2 separate regions of the Homo sapiens genome follow, and region 1 is linked to region 2. Evidence: promoter capture Hi-C in human tissues and cell types (Jung and others, 2019). All regions are on one chromosome and are shown on one strand. Each heading gives the region's core, a stretch centred on a gene start or on the middle of the fragment in contact. The rest is flanking DNA. Distances are from core to core; before and after follow the strand shown. Region 1 overlaps KAZN (kazrin, periplakin interacting protein). Region 2 holds the start of FHAD1 (forkhead associated phosphopeptide binding domain 1).

The links. The method cuts DNA at HindIII sites, captures the fragments that hold promoters and counts their contacts. A contact is called where the count stands out against the background at its distance.
Region 1: a contact is called between a fragment that was not itself captured here and the fragment with the promoter of FHAD1 in region 2, in 2 of the 25 tissues and cell types used here (IMR-90 fibroblasts and pancreas).

What each region holds. Positions count from the first base shown.
Region 1 is chr1:15,079,081-15,083,307 of GRCh38, forward strand. The region is part of intron 8 of KAZN (kazrin, periplakin interacting protein); the gene reads left to right. Among named protein-coding and RNA genes, the nearest start is that of TMEM51-AS1, 71 kb to the right of the region's middle. The HindIII fragment of the contact is 3,369 bases long and covers 375-3,743 here.
Region 2 is chr1:15,245,585-15,249,517 of GRCh38, forward strand. It overlaps FHAD1 (forkhead associated phosphopeptide binding domain 1), which reads left to right and starts at 1,639. Exons shown (of 34, transcript NM_001391957.1): 1 at 1,639-1,811. RefSeq lists silencers at 1,474-1,647, 1,665-1,904. The HindIII fragment of the contact is 8,594 bases long and covers 1-3,933 here.

The DNA of each region.
Region 1 (4,227 bases), core at 809-3,308, 170 kb before region 2:
AGACAGCACCTCCAATCACCTCACCCTGGTCTAGAGGCTTGGCATCTGGCTCAGTGGTGAGTTCCTGTCCCGGTGTGCAAATAGGCAAGGATTCACCAGGCAGGGTCTCCCAGCCGTCACAATGCCCAGTGTCCATAGGCGCCTGTGGAAGAGGCTCAGCTGAGCCAGAAAGAACCTAGGTTGTCTGGAGGCCTAAGGAGGAACTGCTTGCCAGGGAGGGGGCTCATTCAAGCCAAAGAGGCAAAATTGGTGAAAATCTAGCTAGGGAGTGAATTAATCCAGTTAATTAATTATTAAAGTAATAACTAGTCGTTAAATTGTGGACACAAGATGAAGGACCTTTTGTCACAATTCAATACTGTTGGCTTATTTTTTTTTTTAGTGAAACCCAACATAATTTCAGATATTTTACTAAACAATGTGAAAGTGGGGTTGGGGCACAGCTGATTTCCTGAAACCCACAGCCATCCATCGCCCCCAGCTTTGCCTCCAAGAGCTGTACAGATGCACACGTGCCCGGCCTCTGCATGGGTGCGTGGAGAAGGATGGTCTTCTTGCCCTGGCCACCTGTGTCAAGATCCCCCCCTCACTTCTCATGGGATCCACCTTTCAGGGCTGCCCACTGGCAGAGAAGCCTGCCGGGAAAACATGTCAGAAAAGAGGAGTCAGTGTGGGACTTGCCCAAGGAGGCCAGCAGCTGGAGAAAGATGGGCTTCGGCTGCACTTGCAATTGAGACTATAAGAAGGACTTCCCAAATGTGGGTGCTGCTGCAGCAGTGGAACAGGTTAGCAAGGAAGAAAGAGGAAAGCTTTTGATGTATAGATATATATGTAAAAGCATAAAGTCATTGTCATTGGATAACTATGTGTTTGTCTTCCCTGGACCTCTTAGCAGCTTCCTCCTAAGTGCATAAACTTAGAGAATACTTGTCAAGTACCTGCCTAGGAACTGAGTGCAGAGCAGTGGGGACCCTGGCCAACCCCAGGATCTCAATTCCCTGGCCCTTTGGAAAATTTTCAGAGTGTGGCAGGAGGGACTGAAGGAGGAGGATGTCCTCCGAGGTTGGGAGAAGGGTGGCTGGTCATGGGAAAAAGCACAAGTCTAGGCCTTTGCAAGACGGTGGCACCAAAATGAGGGGGCGCCCATGTGATTTTTTAAAAGTATAAAGCAGTTATTGTTGGTAAAAGCAGCACTCTGCTGGACTTTTCTATTTACTTTATGATGTCGTAAATAGGGACACGTTGGGGTGGGAGGTACCACCACTGTTTTAGCCCAGGGCCTCCCAAGGGTGAGCCTGGCCCTGGGGTCAGGGGTGGTGCAGGTTGGTGGCAGGGCCCCTGCCACCTCGCTGCCCACCAAGGGTCCTGCCATCAGCCCCCAGCAGCCACAGTGGTGAGTGACTGATAGGCTCTCCTCCTGATGCTCTTCACACCCACGCTGTCCCTGGTCCTGTGGGCTACCACAGAAGCCTTTCACACATTTCATAAGTATTTCATGGGGCTTGTGACTGAGGGATCAGCAAAGCATCTACATCCAACAGGGCAGCCATGATCGGGCCATAAAAAGTTGTTTTTTCACATTATCATGAAGTGTTTAAAAAATGAGAATTCAGCTTTTGGAGCTACATGTGCTGATGGAGGCTCCCCTGCCACTTCCCAAGGGCAGGGAGTGTTGACAGTAGTTGGCTGCCTGAACAGAGCTGGGCTGGGCTGAGAACAGAGGCCCCGGGGTAGAAGGGAGTAGGACCCTCCCTGTGCCTTAGGGCATGCTGGGGACGCTGGGAGCAGCTACACTCGGTGCTCCCCAGCAGCTTGTGGTTGGAGGCCAGGGATGCTGCTACATGTCCTACGATGCACGGGACAGCCCCATGACAAAGAAATCTGGCCCCAAATGCCGAGTGCCAAAGTTCAGAGGCCTTGCCGTAGGCAGAGGGACAAGAGAATGGTAGCATCTACTGCATAAGAGGGGCCACAGGTGACCCTGCTGTGGCTGGAAGAGGCGTGGACGAGGCGGGGTTGGCAGAAGATGAGACCACAGAGGAAGGCCTGCTCCCTCCCTCCCTCCGTTCCTCCCTTCCTGCCTTCTTTTACTCAATACTTAGAGGGCTCATTCAATTGCAGGCAGTGCTGGGCCAGGGCTGGCTCACACAGGCCCACGGATGGCTCTCTTCCCAACTCCACGTCCAGTGACAGCCTGCCGGTCACTGAAATTGGCCACAATAGGAGTATTTACACCACAGAAATTGGCAAGCAAATGCTAAAACCAGTGTACCTCTGGAAAATATAAGAGCCGGTTGTTAAACGTGGTTGGGCCCTTGCTAGGGACTAGAGATGTCTAGGGAGCAAAACCAGGCCCAGCGCCTGCTCATGTGCAGTTTATGGTCTGGTGGGAGACACAGACTTTCATCGAATAATTACACAACTGTTCGTTTCAGCTGTGAGAGATGTCATGCAGGAAAGGTTCCAGGAATTAATGACAGCGTGTGTGTGTGTGTGTGTGAGTGTGTGTGTTGGGGAGTTGTAGGGTACCCACACTAGGTGACCAGGAAAGGAGTCCCTGAAATAATCAGTATTGAAACAGAGCCCTGAGCCTGTGTAAGCTTCACCAGGCAGAGGAAAGTGACAGGCCGCTGTTCAGGCCAAGGGAACGGCAGGTGCAGGGATTGGAGAGGGGGAATTAGGGGCATCGGGGAAATGCAGGAAGCCCAGGGTGCCAAGGGCAGGGGTGAGAAGCTAAGGATGAAGCTGGCAAGGTCGGCCTGTGGGTCACAGCAAGGACCTTGGGCTTTACCAGGGAGCCATTGAAGGATGATGAGCAGAAGAGGTCCCTGGGAAGATACCATTTTTTAAAAAAATTTCCTCTGGGCTTGAAGAGGATGGAATGAAAGAGAAAGAGGGAGGTAGGGTGTTGAGATACAGCTGGAGTGCTCCAGATAGGAGATGGTGGAGCCAACTGAGACAGGGGACAGGTGATGGAGACTCAGGAGTGATGGAATTCAGCAGGGGACGTTGCAACCTTAGCCTGCCCTCACCAAGCTCACTGCCTCAACTCTGCCTCAGTGGCAGCCGAGGTCCAAGTGCTCAGCCCCCCTATCTGAGGTCTGAGACCCTATGGGGCAGCAACAGGCCCAGCCAGGTGCAGGGACACATTCAGCCACCTCACTTGACCTCCAGGGAAGCCTGGTTCCCTGCGCCACCTCCAACTCAGACACACAAGACACATTTACAACTAAAGCTTTTCTATCAGGCTCCAGGGAGCTCTGCATCCAGGCACACATTTGACCCCAGGGATGCAGATGCCAGGGAGGTGCCAATGTGCTTGATGCTGCAGACATCAAAAGAGGCTCAGAAGCCCAGGGCATGGGTCACTCAGCCACAGGCTGGGTATAGACTCAAAATTTTAAATAGTAAAAGAAGAAAAAAAATTAATTAAAATGCTAGAGCACTAAGTCTTTCCCATAGCTGCTGCCAAGGGTGTCTGCCAATGGCACTCTGAGGTCAGGGACATGCGGGACCAGGATGAAGAATTCCACCTCCCTCTCACTCGCCATGCAGGGTGGGCATAGGAGAATTTACAAGGCCTTTACCTCTAAGCCTCTGCAGTTTGTTTTTGTTTGTTTTGTTTTGTTTGAGACGGAGTCTCGCTCTGTCGCTCAGGCTAGAGTGCAGTGGCATGATCTCGACTCACTGCAACTTCCACCTCCCAGGTTCAAGCGATTCTCATGCCTCAGCCTCTCAAGTAGCTGGGATTACAGGTGCGTGCCACCATACCTGGCTAATTTTTGTATTTTTAGGAGAGACAGGGTTTCATGTTGGCTAGGCTGGTCTCGAACTCCTGACTTCAATTGACCTACCTCTGCATTTTTAACCACCTCCCTGGTAGCTGACATCCCTGATCTAAAGACCACTCTAGGAGCAGTCTCCCTCCTCTAAGTCCCAGCCCTACTGCAAGACTGTGGGATGGACCACGTGACCTTGAGGGCACCATTTAGCCCTAGAATTCTGAATCCCACTGGGTGGGAGGCCCAGGTGACCCCATTCATGATGCCATTTGAGCAGCAAGTACCAGGGTGCTCCAAACTCTTCGGAGGTAGGCACCTTTCCTTGCTCTGGATGGCTCCTAGACAGGCATGTGGACTCAAGCCTGTGCAGCCCCTTTTAGTTGCAAATGTCAACCTCAGGCTAGGTGGAGGGGGGACTGTTTCAGGGCAAAAATGGTGGAAAGTA
Region 2 (3,933 bases), core at 389-2,888:
CTCTGTTCCTGTGAAGCCATCACTTGGGTCCCAGCCCTTGTGGTCCCTCCTAACATTTTACGCCTAGAATCTTTCTGGTTGTAGGAAACTGATCCAGGCAGAACCTTCCAGACTGAGGGCCTGGAAGAGATTTGTAGGGACAGGCTCCGGGAGAGGTCTCTGCAGTTCAGCTGCATAAATCAGGGTTTTGTCAAGCTTGTTGCAAATGCACATTCCTGGATTATGTCCCAGGCCTGCTAAATCAGAATCTCTGGGGTCTGTGCCCAGAAGTCCGCATTTCTAAAAGCCTCCAGGCACGTTTGAGCATCTTCACTGTATATTCCACCACAAATCGATGTCCATGATTTCTCTCTCAGATCCTCTTCCTATTGACTAGGTGTATTAGTCTGTTCTCACACTGCTATAAAGTAATTCCTTGAGACTGAATAATTTACAAAGAAAAGAAGTTTAATTGACTCACAGTTCTGCACTGCTAGGGAGGCCTCAGGAAACTTACAGTTATGGCGGAAGGCCAAGGGGAAGCAAGGAAGCTAGCATGTTGTAACATGGTGTAGCAGGAGAGAGAGAGAGCAAAGGGGGAAGTGCCACACTTTTAAACCATCAGATCTCATGAGAACTCACTCGCTATCATGAGAAAAGCAAGCGGGAAGTCTGCCCCCATGATTCAATCACCTCCCACCAGGCCCCTCTTCCAACACGTGGGGAGTGCAATTCGAGATGAAATTTGGGTGGGGACACACAGCCAAACCGTATCACTAGGGTAGAATGTGCCATAGTTCATCTCTCTTAGAAAAACGTTTAGAGTTTTTCTTGAGGTGTCTGGTCAGCCATTTCCTGCCAGTGAAAGGAATCACTCTCCAGGTAGAGTCAGCAGGAGATAGGATTTCCTGCTGGAGATAGTGGCGGGAGATAGGATTTGCACATCTGCTCAACACACTCCATCCCGCGAGTCCTGTGCCGGCTGACAAGCGGTTTCTTAAGGACAGTAACTGTTCCAGGTGTATTCTGGGATCAGCGTGTGACACTCATAGGACTCAAAAGATGTTTGCAGAGATAGAGAAAGGGCAAAAGAATGAATAAATGTCACTCTTAACAGGGAGGAGCAGAGGCAGCAGGATTGTGAGTTTGGAAATATTTTTTCCCCAGCACATGGAAGAAATCCTCATTCTTTCAAAATTTTTCATTCCACCCCATCCCTTTCCCAATCCCCACCCCACTCCCAGAGATCCCCTCTTCTTACTCTTTCTATTTTCTGGCCTGTAACGGAAAGGACTAGAGATTTGGGTAGGGCAGGGGGCATACTAACCTCCAAGGGTCTCATGAGTTCAGCTCCATCAATCTCCTACCTCTCCCTATCGCCCCCGACCCTCCCTCAACGCATCCAGCTTACAGTGAGGGGTAATGGAAAGGATTCTTGAATCAAATCTCCTCCCTGCTCCTTCCTCGCTGTAAAACCTTGGGCCATTTCTGTGACCTCTGAGCCTCCGCTTTCCTATCTGTGAAATGGGGCAGGCTCGTGGGGCCTGGAGCATTCAGCAGGCGGTAACCCAGTGGGCGTTCCCTGCACGGTGCCACGCCCCCTCTGCCGCGCAGGCCACGCCCTCATCTATTAGGCTGGACCCCGCGGCGCCTGGCGGCGTTGCCATGGCAACGCGCGTACACAGGCCGGCCGGGCGGGCGGGGTGCCGGGTGCGAGCTGGAGACTCCGCGGGAGCGCGGCCGGGAGGCTTCGCCCCGGAGCTGGCCCGACGCCTCCCGAGCTGGCAGGGCTCTCGGCGGAGGTCGGAGCGTGGGCTTCCTCCTCCCGCCAGGTGAGTGCGGCGCGGGAAGGGGTGGCGGGCCGAGACCGGGGACCGGAAGGGGCGGCCCAGCGAGGACTAGCCCTGGCAGGAGGAGGGGTGGCTCCCCGGCCCCATCCTCCTGGATCCAGGCTCCGGTCCCCAGGAGCACCCCAGTAGCTACCCCAACACCAGCCCCTCCTTTCCAGATGCAGGCCCCACCCCGCCCGCGGAGGAAGCCCCCGGGAGCCTTAGACCCTCCTTGGCACCAGCCATGCCACTCTGGGAAGTCCTGGGGGTTACAGCTGGGATTAGGAGGGGCATCCCTGCTGCCCCTGACTTACGAACGACACCCACCCGGCGGTCAGAGAGACTCCCCCCTTGCCTAACCTCTCCCTTCCCAAATACAACACTGAGGAATTTCTAGGGCTCCCAGGCCACTTAAGATCTGGTAACCCCTCAACAGAAATTTTGCTTCTCTATCTCACTTGTGACCTATAAGCAGGGAGTGCAGATGCCTGAAGCTCTTTTGCTCTTTTGCATGGTCGGTGCCCTGTGTCTTAGAACTAATTTACAGAGTTTAACGCATCTAATCACTTTCTACAGTGTTTTCAGGTAGGAAAGTGACTGCACAGGGCAAGATTAAAGTGGGGAAATAGGGCCCAACCCATTCAGCTAAAGAAATAGACTTTTTTTTTTTTTTCCAGAATGTCATCTAGGATAAATACTGAAGGGGAAAATGAAAGGTAGTTACTGTCAGAGGTTCTTAGGCTACCCTGACTTACTTTTAAGCATTGTTTTGTACTTTCATTCATTCATGATTTACTGAGCACCACTATGTGTCAGGCATGGCAGCGCTGGGGGCCAGAGGGGAGTAATGAACAGACTGTGAGGAAATGCAAAGGGTCTGAGATTTTTACACTACTTGCAAGCTAAGTTAGCCTGCCACTGCTTAATGATGCTAGCAGAAGACCAGAGACTCCAGGACCAGAGACAAAGGATGTTATTACTCACAGCACAGCAGGCACTGTGAGCTCATGTTTGCGTTGGTTCCCCTTGCCCTGCAAGTACCCCGGGGTGATGCAGGACAGCTCAGGTGGATGCTGTGCACACTGCGAGTCTGTTTCCCAGCTAAGGAACCCCAAGCTCAGGAAACTCCAGTCTTTTAAAAGGGGCTGCTAGCCAGTGCCCAACCTTTGCCCTGGAAGGAGATGACCTTTTTTTTTTTTTTTTAATTGAGACAGAGTCTTGCTCTGTCTCCCAAGCTAGATAGAGTGCAGTGGCACAATCTCAGCTCACTGCAACCTCTGCTGCACGGTTTCAAGTGATTCTCCTGCCTCAGACTTCCGATTAGCTGGGACTACAGGTGCAAGCCACCATGCCCGGCTAATTTTTTTGTGTTTTTAGTAGAGACAGGGTTTCGCCATGTTGGCCAGGCTGGTCTCAAACTCCTGACCTCAGGTGATCCGTCCACCTGGGCCTCCCAAAGTGCTAGGATTACAGGCATGAGCCACCGTGCCCAGCCAGAGATGACATTTTTATCATAAATCTGCACTCTGCCCTGGATAGGGACACTATCCCTATCCTCTCAGGATATTTGCCCTACAGATGTCCTTGGAAGATTGTCTGGAACAAAATCTGTCAGTGTCTTTGCTCTGAAGATGGGTACAAACACAGGAAACCCATGGAGAATTGAGTTTAACAAAAACAACACAGTTTGGGCTCTCTTGGAACGTATCTCAGTGAAAGGGAAACAGTAAACAGCTAAGTAAAGAACAAGAAAATGACAGAGAATGATAAGCTCAAGGAAGGAGCCACAGCAGTGACACATGCTAGCTAGACAACAAAGTGACTGGTGACGCCTTTAGCTGGGGTGGTCAGGTAGCTACCGCAAGGCACCAGCTGTGGAAACATCGGGGGGAAGAGCTAAAAAAAAAAAAAAAGCCAGTCATTCAGATTTGGGGTTTTACTCTGGAGGCATTTCCTGTGGCTTTCCCACAAAAGAGACATTTCTCGAAAGTTGACTTTAGATTACTTTTACTTTAGTTTGGATGTGGTGCTTGATGATGTAGTCCTCTGCAATTGAAGATTAATAACTCAGGCAATTTGAGGGCAACAGGGCATGGTTCTTTTGGAAAAAGAAGTGTCTTTTTAT